Regions from separate parts of the Homo sapiens genome. Here all the other regions are linked to region 2. The links are contacts of gene promoters, found by promoter capture Hi-C in human tissues and cell types (Jung and others, 2019). All regions are on one chromosome and are shown on one strand. The core of a region is centred on a gene start or on the middle of the fragment in contact, and the rest is flanking DNA. Distances in the headings are between cores, read along the strand shown.

The links. The method cuts DNA at HindIII sites, captures the fragments that hold promoters and counts their contacts. A contact is called where the count stands out against the background at its distance.
Region 1: a fragment that was not itself captured here is called in contact with the fragment with the promoter of GAP43 in region 2 in 1 of the 25 tissues and cell types used here (mesendoderm cells).
Region 3: a contact is called between a fragment that was not itself captured here and the fragment with the promoter of GAP43 in region 2, in 2 of the 25 tissues and cell types used here (neural progenitor cells and pancreas).
Region 4: a contact is called between a fragment that was not itself captured here and the fragment with the promoter of GAP43 in region 2, in 1 of the 25 tissues and cell types used here (thymus).

What each region holds. Positions count from the first base shown.
Region 1 is chr3:115,685,265-115,688,043 of GRCh38, reverse strand. All of the region lies in intron 2 of GAP43 (growth associated protein 43), which reads right to left. Among named protein-coding and RNA genes, the nearest start is that of GAP43, 63 kb to the right of the region's middle. The HindIII fragment of the contact is 8,363 bases long and covers 1-2,779 here.
Region 2 is chr3:115,622,027-115,624,928 of GRCh38, reverse strand. It overlaps GAP43 (growth associated protein 43), which reads right to left and starts at 1,419. Exons shown (of 3, transcript NM_002045.4): 1 at 1,210-1,419. The coding sequence starts at 1,239. The HindIII fragment of the contact is 4,830 bases long and covers 1-2,902 here.
Region 3 is chr3:115,581,464-115,584,413 of GRCh38, reverse strand. No RefSeq gene overlaps it. Among named protein-coding and RNA genes, the nearest start is that of GAP43, 41 kb to the left of the region's middle. The HindIII fragment of the contact is 6,224 bases long and covers 1-2,950 here.
Region 4 is chr3:115,668,823-115,671,667 of GRCh38, reverse strand. All of the region lies in intron 1 of GAP43 (growth associated protein 43), which reads right to left. Among named protein-coding and RNA genes, the nearest start is that of GAP43, 47 kb to the right of the region's middle. The HindIII fragment of the contact is 4,688 bases long and covers 1-2,845 here.

The DNA of each region.
Region 1 (2,779 bases), core at 166-2,665, 63 kb before region 2:
CTCCATCTCAAACATAAATAAATAAATAAATAAATAATAAAAAAATTTCGTTAGTAACCCTGGGTGAGTCACTCAAATTCCATTTTTTTATGGTTTATACTACAAGTCAAATTTTAGAATTTGAGCAGTATCTGTTTGTAAAATAAACAATTCAAGCTAAGTACAGATTGGATGCCTGCCTGAAAAGATGAGTTTTGAATTATGTTGAGTTTTAATCTTGCCAAGATTGAAGACCTTTTGAATTTGGTCTTAAGTTTAAAACAGTAATTTTTAATTATTATTAGTTAAAATGTGAAATCAAAGTTTAACCAAGATCACGAAATAGTTTGGTAGAGGTGTAGGGGATTGCGAGATAGGACCCCAATCCTAGGAACCCAATCCTTGTTAACCTGGCCTCTGCAAAACAACCGCAATTCCCAGAAACTACTGCTGAGATGCTGCTCCATGGAACTCCAGGCTCCAGCAACACAACTCAAAGTTCATTGATTGAGGATTCTAGAAAATAAATTTTCTTTGGGATTATGATTTGTAAAATATCATTTAGAAAATAAATTCTGCATGGTTTTAATACCAGTGGAACTAAAATTAAATGGAACAGTGGTTAGTTGCCTAAAGCCATGTTTAGAAGTTACTCACACCAGTCCTATCTGCGACTACACAATAGGACTGTAATATGAATCAATTTTCTGTTGACCTTATAAGTAATACACAAAATCTACTATATCATCAATATGGGTGCAGTTATCCATACTCATTGTGAAGATCAGCTTACAGTAAATGAGATCGATTGGCATTGACTCTTTTATTGCTGTCCACATGTAGACAATAAGTAGCTGAGAAATTTCTGAAATTTGCATTTTTCAAACTGTACTTCAAGGCTCAGAAATGATCTACCTAGAGGGTAGGGATAGATGCAAAAAAAAAAAAAGAGGGGGGATTTCAGGACATCTTCAGTCATCTCCACTTTCCCCTATCATTCTCAACCAAAGCTTCTCTGCTTTGGGGTTTAGTGTATATATTTTAAACTCATTTGAGCAAATAGTGCCTAGGCTAACAATTTTGAAAATGTCTGCCTTCAGCAATTACTTACTCATCTGATTCTACCTCTGTGAAGACATTGTTTCACAATGTTCCTCCTAGCACGAAAAGCATCTTTCTCACTAAAAATTAGTATGAGGGAAGGAAATAGTCAACTCTTCCTCTGCATTAAATGTTAAATGGTTGCAAATCAATCTGAACCCTGAAATCATCTCCGAAAAACCAGCTGAGAAGAACTATTGCCTCCATCAACATGTCTATTTTTAAATTTTCCTTCTTTTCTTATGAAAGAACATAATAATTTTCAAACTAAGTTAATCATGAGAAAGAGGTTTTAAGAAAATTCTAAAATTTAGTATTTTGGGTTCCAAGATTTGAGAATTTTATATCTGATGATTACTTTTAACTCATGTTTAAAGTTCCTAAGTATCCATTTTATTATAACCTCATAAATATAATAAATTATGCACTTTCCTTTAAAAAAAGATGAAAAGCCTTTCAATGCATTAAAAAGATACAGCTCAGATCAAATTTTGAGGACAATGTACAAATTCCTTCAGTAGCAATTGCTTTTCTAATTGAATACAAGAATACCAATTCTAAACTTTACTTTTCTTCCTTAACCTTTAGCAAGTGTACAATGCTCAACAGAAATGACTGCGAATGTTGAAAGTACTTCTCATGGCATCACATATATATGTACATAACTATGTGGTTTTACAAATGTATATTTATATGCTTCTACACTGATACATTATTTGGAAGTTGATAATTACTATTCTTAGTATTTTAGAATTATCAAAATAAAATTAATCAAATTGCTAAAATATAATGATCTGGGGTATGCTGGAGCTGACTAACGTTGGCTGCTGACAGCAAGATATTAGCACTTCTTCCCAACTGCTTATTTGGAGATTACACATTGGTAGCCTGAAATCAGCTAGGATGGGAGTATTTATACCATAGAAATTGGCAAAAACTACAAATAAAGGCTGTTAGAGTTTTGTTTTATTTTTTGGAGAGCCAGTTTACCAGCATGCCGCTGCAGATATCTGATAAAATCATAATGAATGGTTTACACCTTGGTGGCAAGAAAAAGAAAACTAACATATCTTCCAATAGGGGCCAGGTTCTCTTATGAATCTATTATAATTAAACCACCAATATCAAAGGAAGAGGAAGGAGGAAATAAAAAAAATCTTCCACCGCTGGTTTTCCTTCTAAAAGGATTTGATTACACCAATGGGGAGAACACTGAAACCACATTACTGAACTCTGCGCTTTCTTAGCCCTTTAAACTGGAATAGAATTTCACAAAGTGGGGCACATTCTGTCTTTTTACCAAATACATGAGGGTGACTTTAAGTTGCAGTTTTTGTGTAGGGAAGAATCCTTTCAGCCTCCCACTGCAATGTCCCTCATGGTCTGTAATCTGAATAGCTCACAGGCTGTACACAAATTATGTTTGCATTAAGGAATGGGAAAGCCTGTTTACTGGTCTGTGTCCCAACACTGTTGGTTTGGGAACACAATAACAATTCACCCTACAGTGGAGCAACAGCAGGTTCAATAGACTCTTACACACCTTGCAAAGATTACTTAATTGTGTCAGATGAGGAAAGGAAGCCAAGGAACCTGGCAAATCATTTCTTCCCTGGGTGTTTCTGTCACACACTAGCAAGGGCCACCCACAGGTCATTCATGTGGCTGGAGTGAAATTAATCACCTGCTTTCAGTAGGG
Region 2 (2,902 bases), core at 170-2,669:
ACCAAGATTGCCCCCACCACACCCCCACCCCCACCACAGTCAAGCATACGCACACACTCACCCGTATCCCACACCCATTTTTCTCTTTAACCTTTGCCAAAATCACTCAAATGCATTCCAACAAATGTTTGAAAGCTTCTTTTGGAGACTGCCATGGCATGGTCGGTTGCTGCGGAATACCACACTCGTCATTCCTTCCCACTCTCACCCCAATCAAGTTTCTAAAATGTCTTTCAAGAAATAAGCGAGCAATTGGAAATGGCTGTAAAACCTGGGCAGTGGGGGAGGGAAGGAGGGGCTCTGATTCTTGCTAATCTTGGATGTGTCCCTCTTCCTGATGAAAATGAGTCACCATACTTATTATCCAGGATGTTAGCCTGTCTCTGGTCACTGACAATCCCAGGAAAGAAGCAAGGGAAGGGGATAAGAGAAAAGACCTGGTTTCCAACAGGTAATACCCGGCTGTCTTTCCCATCCCATCGGAGCTCCTAGGGGCGTGGTCCACCCTCTCCTCCGACCAGCTGGTGCACAATCGGCTGCTGATCTTAGGAAGGGGATTTTCTCCTTCTGCATGGCCAATTTCTCCCCCAGCCCCAGTTGTCTTAGCTTCTCTTAAAAAAAAAAAAAATCTATCAAATCACAGTTTCATTCATTCATTGAAAAATAAATACTAAATAAATAAGACCTGCACGTTTTTCCATAAATACCTGCGCCCCTTCGAAGCTCATGCATGCACGAAATAAGGCATCTTCCGCAGCACATGTGAGAAAATTGTATGACAGAGAGGCAATACTCAGTTCTGAATATTATTTCCTCAACCCTGCTTTTTTGCAAATAATATAAAGAAATGCCTCCCCATCTTGTAGGTAGAGCCCACATCATCTCCCCCACACCCCTTTCTACGTCCACACCCTCAAGACCAGAGACCTCAAATGCTGAGCATTCACTAATAAGAAAAAAAAAAATTATTTCTAGCCAAACAGGCATGTTTTTTCTACCCTCACCCTAATTAGTAGCAGCATTCCAAAACCAGAGCATGAAAGACAGAAAAGAATAAAAGCTGGGATGCAACCATCAGTTACCATATGCTAAGGAAGCGCGAGCACCACGGCCAGAGCAGAAGCAGTAAAAAAATTGTTTGCCTTTACGGGGAAATACTGTACTCGGGTTATTTCACAACAGCAAGAAGTAAAAAATCTTTAGCTCTACCTGTTTGGTTCTTCTCATACAGCACAGCATGGTTGTCTCGTCCCTTGCCTTCTTCCTGCCTTCTCTCCTTTCCTTCTCTCTCTTTCTTATTCCCCCCCTCTCCACCTCTTTTCTGCTCGCTTGCTCACTCGCTCTCTCGCGCTAGCGCGCTCTCTCTCCCTCCCTCCCTCTCTCTCCCTCACACACACCAGGGCAGTTAGCAGCAACTGTAAGGTCCACAGCTATTGCTCATCGCACATGCTCGCTCCCTCTCTCTAGCGCTCTCTCTCTCTCTCCCTCTCTCTCTGGTGCTCTCTCTCCGCTGTCCTCTCTTCCCTCTCTTCTCCTTTTTTCTCCTTCCCCCCAATATCTATCTATCTGTCTTTTTCTTCCCTCTCTCTCCGTCTCTTTCTCGGAATTGTTCTCTAGCCTTCAGTGACTAATCACTTCCCCCAGCCCCTACCCCCATTCTAGACAGTCGCCCCCTCCCAGTCCCCTGCCAGCCTCATGAATATTTAAACACCTCCAATCTGGACCCAATTACCCACCGACTTTTCCACTGCATTGAGAGGGTGATGGGGTGGGGGCAGAGAAGGATATTCCAGTCAATCCAGGAGATATGATAGAGCATGTTTTAGGGAAGAGGGGCTTGAGGAATCCTTGTATTTCTTTAAGAACTCTTTTCCTCTTTTCCTAGTATTATAAAAGCAAAGAACAGCTATTTCTAAAGAGGAATTGTAGTCAGTCCTATACAATATAAGTCATATCTGCCATTACATTTTATGCATAGTTAATAATTGTGGAGGTTAATTTCCCTCAAAAAATGAAATAACATGTAAATATCATACACTGTTTATATATTCTTCTCAGTATACATATAACCTGAAATAAATACAAAGCTTAGATATGCACAAGCATATTTTATATATGTTCCAATATCCTGGAAAAAAATCCACATAAATATATTGCATTTTAAACATTCTAAGCACTTGAGCTCAGAAATAATAAACAATGTTTAAGAATTGGCATCCATATCTAAAATCACATGGTAGTTTTTTGTTTTTTCCTTAATGCACATATACCTGTTTGTAAATTGTGGTTTCTTCTAATTTTACTGAAAAAGCTGAGCACATTCAAACAGGTCTGTGTAATATTGACGGTGATCAAAATGATATTTTACAATTTGGGCATGAGAGATTAAAGTGAATTCATCTGAGATGAGAAGAAACGATAAGTCATGAAGCCTACTTCTTGAATTCCTTCTATGGCCTTTCATAATTTTGGGGGAGGAACATGTGACTCTTAAAGTGTGTATAGCACAATTTTTAGTTATTTATTGTTGAATGAGTTTGAGTGTGTTACTGAAGCTCTTTGCACCTAATTTTCTCATCTTTAAAATGGAGATAATAATGCCAATCTTGACAACATGTTTTGAGGACTAAATGATATAACGCATGCAAAGCACAACAGTCTCTCTGAGTGTATAATAGCTTTACTCCAGAGACTGTACTTTTCTGAAATTCGGGTGACATTTGCAAGTGAATATCTCAAAGAAGTTTTCAAACTATTTCTTGTTGTTCATTAGTGATGACAAGTACCCCTAATTAAACAGCTCATATTCTTCATAGTCCCTCCTAGACCTCCTAGACATAAACCTAGCTAATAAGTGGCAACTAGGCAGCTTATTGTTAGGCATATTTCAGGATCACTGAGC
Region 3 (2,950 bases), core at 399-2,898, 41 kb after region 2:
TTTGATCAGAGAGAGCCCTTTCAAGTTGGTCATTATGTCCTTTTAACAGGTCGACATCTTTCGTTTAAAAAAAAATTACTTCTTTACTTTGTAGCACCGTAAGATATTCTAAGTTCATCTTGTATTTTCCTTGCCCCAACCCTAGAAGCAGTCCTCTGTGTGTGTGTGTGTGTGTGTGTGTGTGTGTGTGTGTGTGTGTGTGTGTGTGTTTAATGAGGGAATGGTATTTACAAACCCAAATCTAGACATAAAATTAGATTTTAAAAGATATTTACTGTTTCTTCTGTTGTGGTTAAGTGCCAGTTTGGACAAATTTAATTGTCCGTGTAGTCAAACAGTGGGTGATCTATATTGGCAGGCCTAGTATTATAAATCTTAACAAAATTGTAAAATACTACTGCATTTCTTCTATTTTAAGATACTAAGATGCACCATAGTTTTAATAATAGCTTCTTGGAGGGTGGAAGGAGGGTAAAAAACTCCACATTAAGTGTTCACATTGATTATAAGGCATCTACTAGTTTAAAAAACATCAAGATGTGAAGAAATTTGCATCTAAGAATCAAGAAAATAAGCAATTTGTTTCAAAGAAAATCATATCATTATAGCTTCATGTAGAATCTTTCAAATGATTTAAGGAAAGCATTGAATAATATTATAAATAGCTTTGTTTATATTAATCCTTTCTCTTTTACCCTTAACTGTATATTCTTTCATATTTGGTAGGTTGTAATAAAAATTCAGGGGATAGGTCAAAAGAATCTACTTTATTTTTTAAAGATACATGAAAGATAAGAAGAAGCTACAGCCAGGTCTACCCCTCAATGATTGGGCTTAAAGAAGATATTACTAGAAACATGTTAATTTGTTTTATATTTTCTCGTGTGTCTACATTTTAATACGTCTGTTGTATCATCTCAATGGCTTCGAAAACCAAATGTATATTAATAATAAGAAGAAGAATACCTCACATATAAATAGGACTTTATGTTAAACACATTACAAAGGCAATGTTATTAAGGGTAGCATAATGTATTAACTAACTAGAATTTTATTGCCTAGGACAAGTTCCTCCTCTGCTACTTACTAGATTTGTACCCTTAGGCAAATTACTTATCCTTTCTAGGCCTCAGTTTTCTCATCTGTCAAATGAAAATAATACCCTAAAGGAAACATATCCTAAAAGTCATTGTGAGTATAAAATGAGACAATTCAGGGAAAACACACAGACCAGTACAGTGGTTGGTATTCAGTAAGCCTCTCAGTCAATGTTACATAACGAAAAGTCGTTCAAAGACAGAGGTTTGTATCATTCCAATATCTCAAATGAATATTTTCTTTTTACATCCCTTATAAGACAATTTAGTACATTTTTCTATTTGTGAACCCAAATAGAGTCAATAGTGTAATGGCCCAACGGGTTCTCCTTGCCTACTGCCTAGACGGAGCTAATTTATCAAGCCAGGGGAATTGCAATAGAGAGTTTAATTCAACAGAGCTGGCTATACAGGAGACGGGAGTTTTATTATTACTCAAATCAGTCTCCCAGAGAATTCAGGGATCAGAGTTTTTAAGGATAATTAGGGGGATGGGACCGGTGAGTTGGGAGTGCTGATTGGTTGGGTCAGTGATGAAATCATAGGGAGTTGAACCCATCCTCTTGCACTGAGTCAGTTCCCAGGTGGGGACCACAACACCAGATGAGTCAGTTTACCGATCTGGATGGTACCAGCTGATCCATTGCGTACAGGGTCTGCAAAATAGCTCACTCACTGATCTTAGGTTTTACCATAGTGATGTTATCCACAGGAGCAATTTGGAGAGGTTCAGAATTTTGCAGCCTCTGGCTGCATGATTCCTAAACTATAATCTCTAATCTCGTGGCTAATTTGTTAGTCCTTCAAAAGCAGTCTAGTCCCCAGGCAGGAAGGGGGTTTGTTTTGGGAAAGGGCTGTTACCATCTTTGTTTCAAAGTTAAACTATAAACTAAGTTCCTCCCAAAGTTAGTTAACCCTATGCCCAGGGGTAAACAAGGACAGCTTGGAGGTTAGAAGCAAGATGGAGTCAGTTAGGTCAGATATCTTTCACTGTCATTGTTTTCTCAGTTATAATTTTTGCAAAGACAGTTTCAATAGGAAGAATCTTCTTAAGTTCTAAGTCAGGAATATGAATTAGGAAGCTGCACCAAGGTGAACAAGTACACCTACCTATGATGGTTTAATTATCTCTTTGTTTTACTCACCACCAGCAGGTCCTAGACTGACAAACCTATCCTGTGTTCTCATCTACTACTCTCCCATCTATAGGAAAACAACGATTCTCAGAAGCCATTGGTTTAAAAGACTGAGCAAACATATTTGAGACGCAGATAAGCAGAGAAAAGAAAAAAAGAGCACACACCCAACAAGTTTAGATTGCCCCGTCTCTCGCTCAGGTTTAGATTGCCCTGTCTCTCTCTCGAGTTGTGTCGCTCCGGCTGACTCACACTCTGTCATAGTGCTACTCATAAAGAGTCCTGAGGGTACTTAACCCAGGACAATACCACACAGATGATTAACATCAAAGAAAGAAGAGAGACATTCTTTATCATCCATGATAAGGGATTCACAATTTCCCCTTTAATTCTTTAATTGGCCTTTCTAATTAGAGGGATTTGCTGCTTTATTTGGCAGTAGTTGGCTATGATCTGTATGGTTTCTGCAACACTAAGCTTGATTGTTTGCATCTTAAAGGGATTCTGGGGACTCCCTACCCTTTCAGGGATTTCTTTGATGCTCTTCAAGGGTTTTAGAGAACTGAGGTCAAGGATGATCCACTAGCATGCAGAAGGAAACTGGGACTCCACCATTTATTTCAGAGCAGTTACATCACTCACTCTGGCTCAACTCCCATATTGTCAAGTGAAGCAGTGGATGAAGCAAGAAATGTGATCAGGCTGCCGCAGGTCCCC
Region 4 (2,845 bases), core at 315-2,814, 47 kb before region 2:
ACACAGAATTGTTGATATCTGCGAATTAAGTAAAGAGGACATTCCAGTGCAGTACATTATAGGTAGGAAGGGTGTCATTACGAGTTACCATAAGTTTTTCAGGAATCTTTATTGTTATGGCTTAATATTTTTTACTGACTGATTTGTTTGAGAGCTCTGCAATTTATGAAGTCTTAAAGGAAACCAAGGTGTAGGACATCCCTACTTTTTAAACAAACATTAAAATCTCAGATGAATATTGGTTGGAAAAAATGAAGAGTACCATTACACTAACTTGTTGACACTAATGAAACTTCTAAATCCATTAGATGAATGAACAATGATTTTAATTGATATTTAAGAATTACAGATAAGAAAGCCAGAAATAAGAAGTAATTACTTAAGTATCCAACATTGTTGCTCTGGTCTTCTTTTCCTTTGGGGAAAGGAGGAATGGACAACTTAAGATTTATTCTAAAATGTCCAAACATTTGCATTCAATATGTTACAAAAGAGCTCTAGGCAAAAATCCATGAATGGCTAACTTTCAGAACTAAAAATAACATCATCCATTCATCTGGGATACCTCAATGCATTTCACTTTTCCCAGTTATCATAGGAATGCCTCAACCTTCCAAGCAAATTAAAACTTGGCCCTATATCTACTTCTGCTAGCTATAAATAGTACCATTATAATACTTAAATTTTTAAAAAATAGTATTGAATTTTAAATGCATTACAAATCATTGATGTACACATATTCTTCTTTCTGAGAACATCTTTAGTAAACCAAAATATAGTTCATTTGATCAAGCAAAGTTATTTTTGAGAACAAACTTGAAAGGCCGGAGATATCCTAAGCAATGTTTTTTTAAATATGTTGTAGTTTTCATGCCTATCAGAATCTTCTACAGCCTGTAAAGGAACCAGAATAAAGTGTTGATAAATATAAATAAAATCTGGGAAGTACCTACTTATGGCCCACTTTATTTTTTATTAATAATTTATTGAGGTGAAAGTCACATAACAAAATTTCACTCTATTTTTAAGCATCATTGATACCATGGCAATTGACTTTAGGGAAAATGTGCAAGTATTAAAGTAGTTCACAGTGGAGCTTCTGTACTTTCTTTAAACCTAGACAAAGATCAAAAATACAGTAAAATACCCCTTAGGGAGGAGAGAGAAGACAGTGGGCCAGCCTCCTCCAGTTCTATAGATGGAATGTCACTGCCGGTTTCGGTGCAGGTGTAAGGAAGAAAGTGTCCTTTAAAAAGATGAAATGTCCAACAATGATAGACTGGATTAAGAAAATGTGGCACATATACACCATGGAATACTATGCAGCCATAAAAAATGATGAGTTCATGTCCTTTGTAGGGACATGGATGAAATTGGAAACCATCATTCTCAGTAAACTATTGCAAGAACAAAAAACCAAACACCGCATATTCTCACTCATAGGTGGGAATTGAACAATGAGATCACATGGACACAGGAAGGGGAATATCACACTCTGGGGACTGTGGTGGGGTCGGGGGAGGGGGGAGGGATAGCATTGGGAGATATACCTAATGCTAGATGACACGTTAGTGGGTGCAGCGCACCAGCATGGCACATGTATACATATGTAACTAACCTGCACAATGTGCACATGTACCCTAAAACTTAGAGTATAATAAAAAAAAAAATTAAAAAAAAAATTAAAAAAAAAAAATAAAAATAAAAAGATGAATAAGCACAGTGGGCATACACCGGATCCCCCAACATGCAGTCTGGTTTGAAGACCTCATACCTAGGGTATGAGGGGAATGGGGAGCAGAGTGCGCAGAGAAGCAATGAAACTGTATAAGAAAACAAAATATCTCATATTGGAAACTGCAGTAGTAATGTTAACTTTTCAGATAAGAGCTGGTGATCAAAAGATGGGTCTTCAGTCCACTTTAATGTATTATTTATTCAACATGTACAGCCCACCTGCTTCCAAAATAATATGAGGTGGTATCTTCAACATAGTATAAAGCATTATCAGAGTAGAACTCAGTTTCCAGTCTGAAAAGTTGTTTTCTTTTATTTTGTATATCTATAACCCTATTATGTCCCACAAAGACATAGAAGAGGTAAATAATGTATTGCAACTGATGCCTTCAAACAGAAAAAAAGTCAGCCTTTGAGAAGTACCTTGTCTATTTTACTTAGAGCTGAATGCCAGTTTCTAGAATGGTGCCTGGCACAAAGTAGATGCTCAATTAATATTTATTGGATGAATCCAAAATCTGAGCATCTCCATTAGTGCTATTTCAGAAAGATGATGACAGGTGAAGAAATCTGGATTCGATTTTGTCAATTTTTGTTAAAATCCTTCACTTCTCAGTGGTGGAATTCAAGAGCATCTAACTACAACAGGTATATGATTCCCCAATTATAGAAATTAGTAAGCAGAGGTTTAACAAGAAAAGAAATAGCAAAGCTATAGAAACGCCATTGATCATAATAATAAACAAGCACTTGAAAATAATAATACATCTAAGATAAAGACAACTGATTTATATTTATCTATTGACTCGTTAGAGTCATATCAATAAAATTATTTTTCTGTGTGTGTGTGTGTGTGTGTGTACTTTTTCTTTCTTTTTTTTTTTTTAGACAGGGTCACTCTCTGTCACCCAGGCTGGAGCGCAGTGGCACTATCTCAGATGACTGCTGCAGCCTTGACCTCCCAAGCTCAAGCAATCCTTCCACTTCAGTCTCTCAAATAGCTGGGGCTACAGCTATGTGCCACCATGCCCAGCTAATTTTTATATTTTTTGTAGAGATGGACAACATTTCACCATATTACCCAGGCTGGTCTCAAACTCCTGGACTC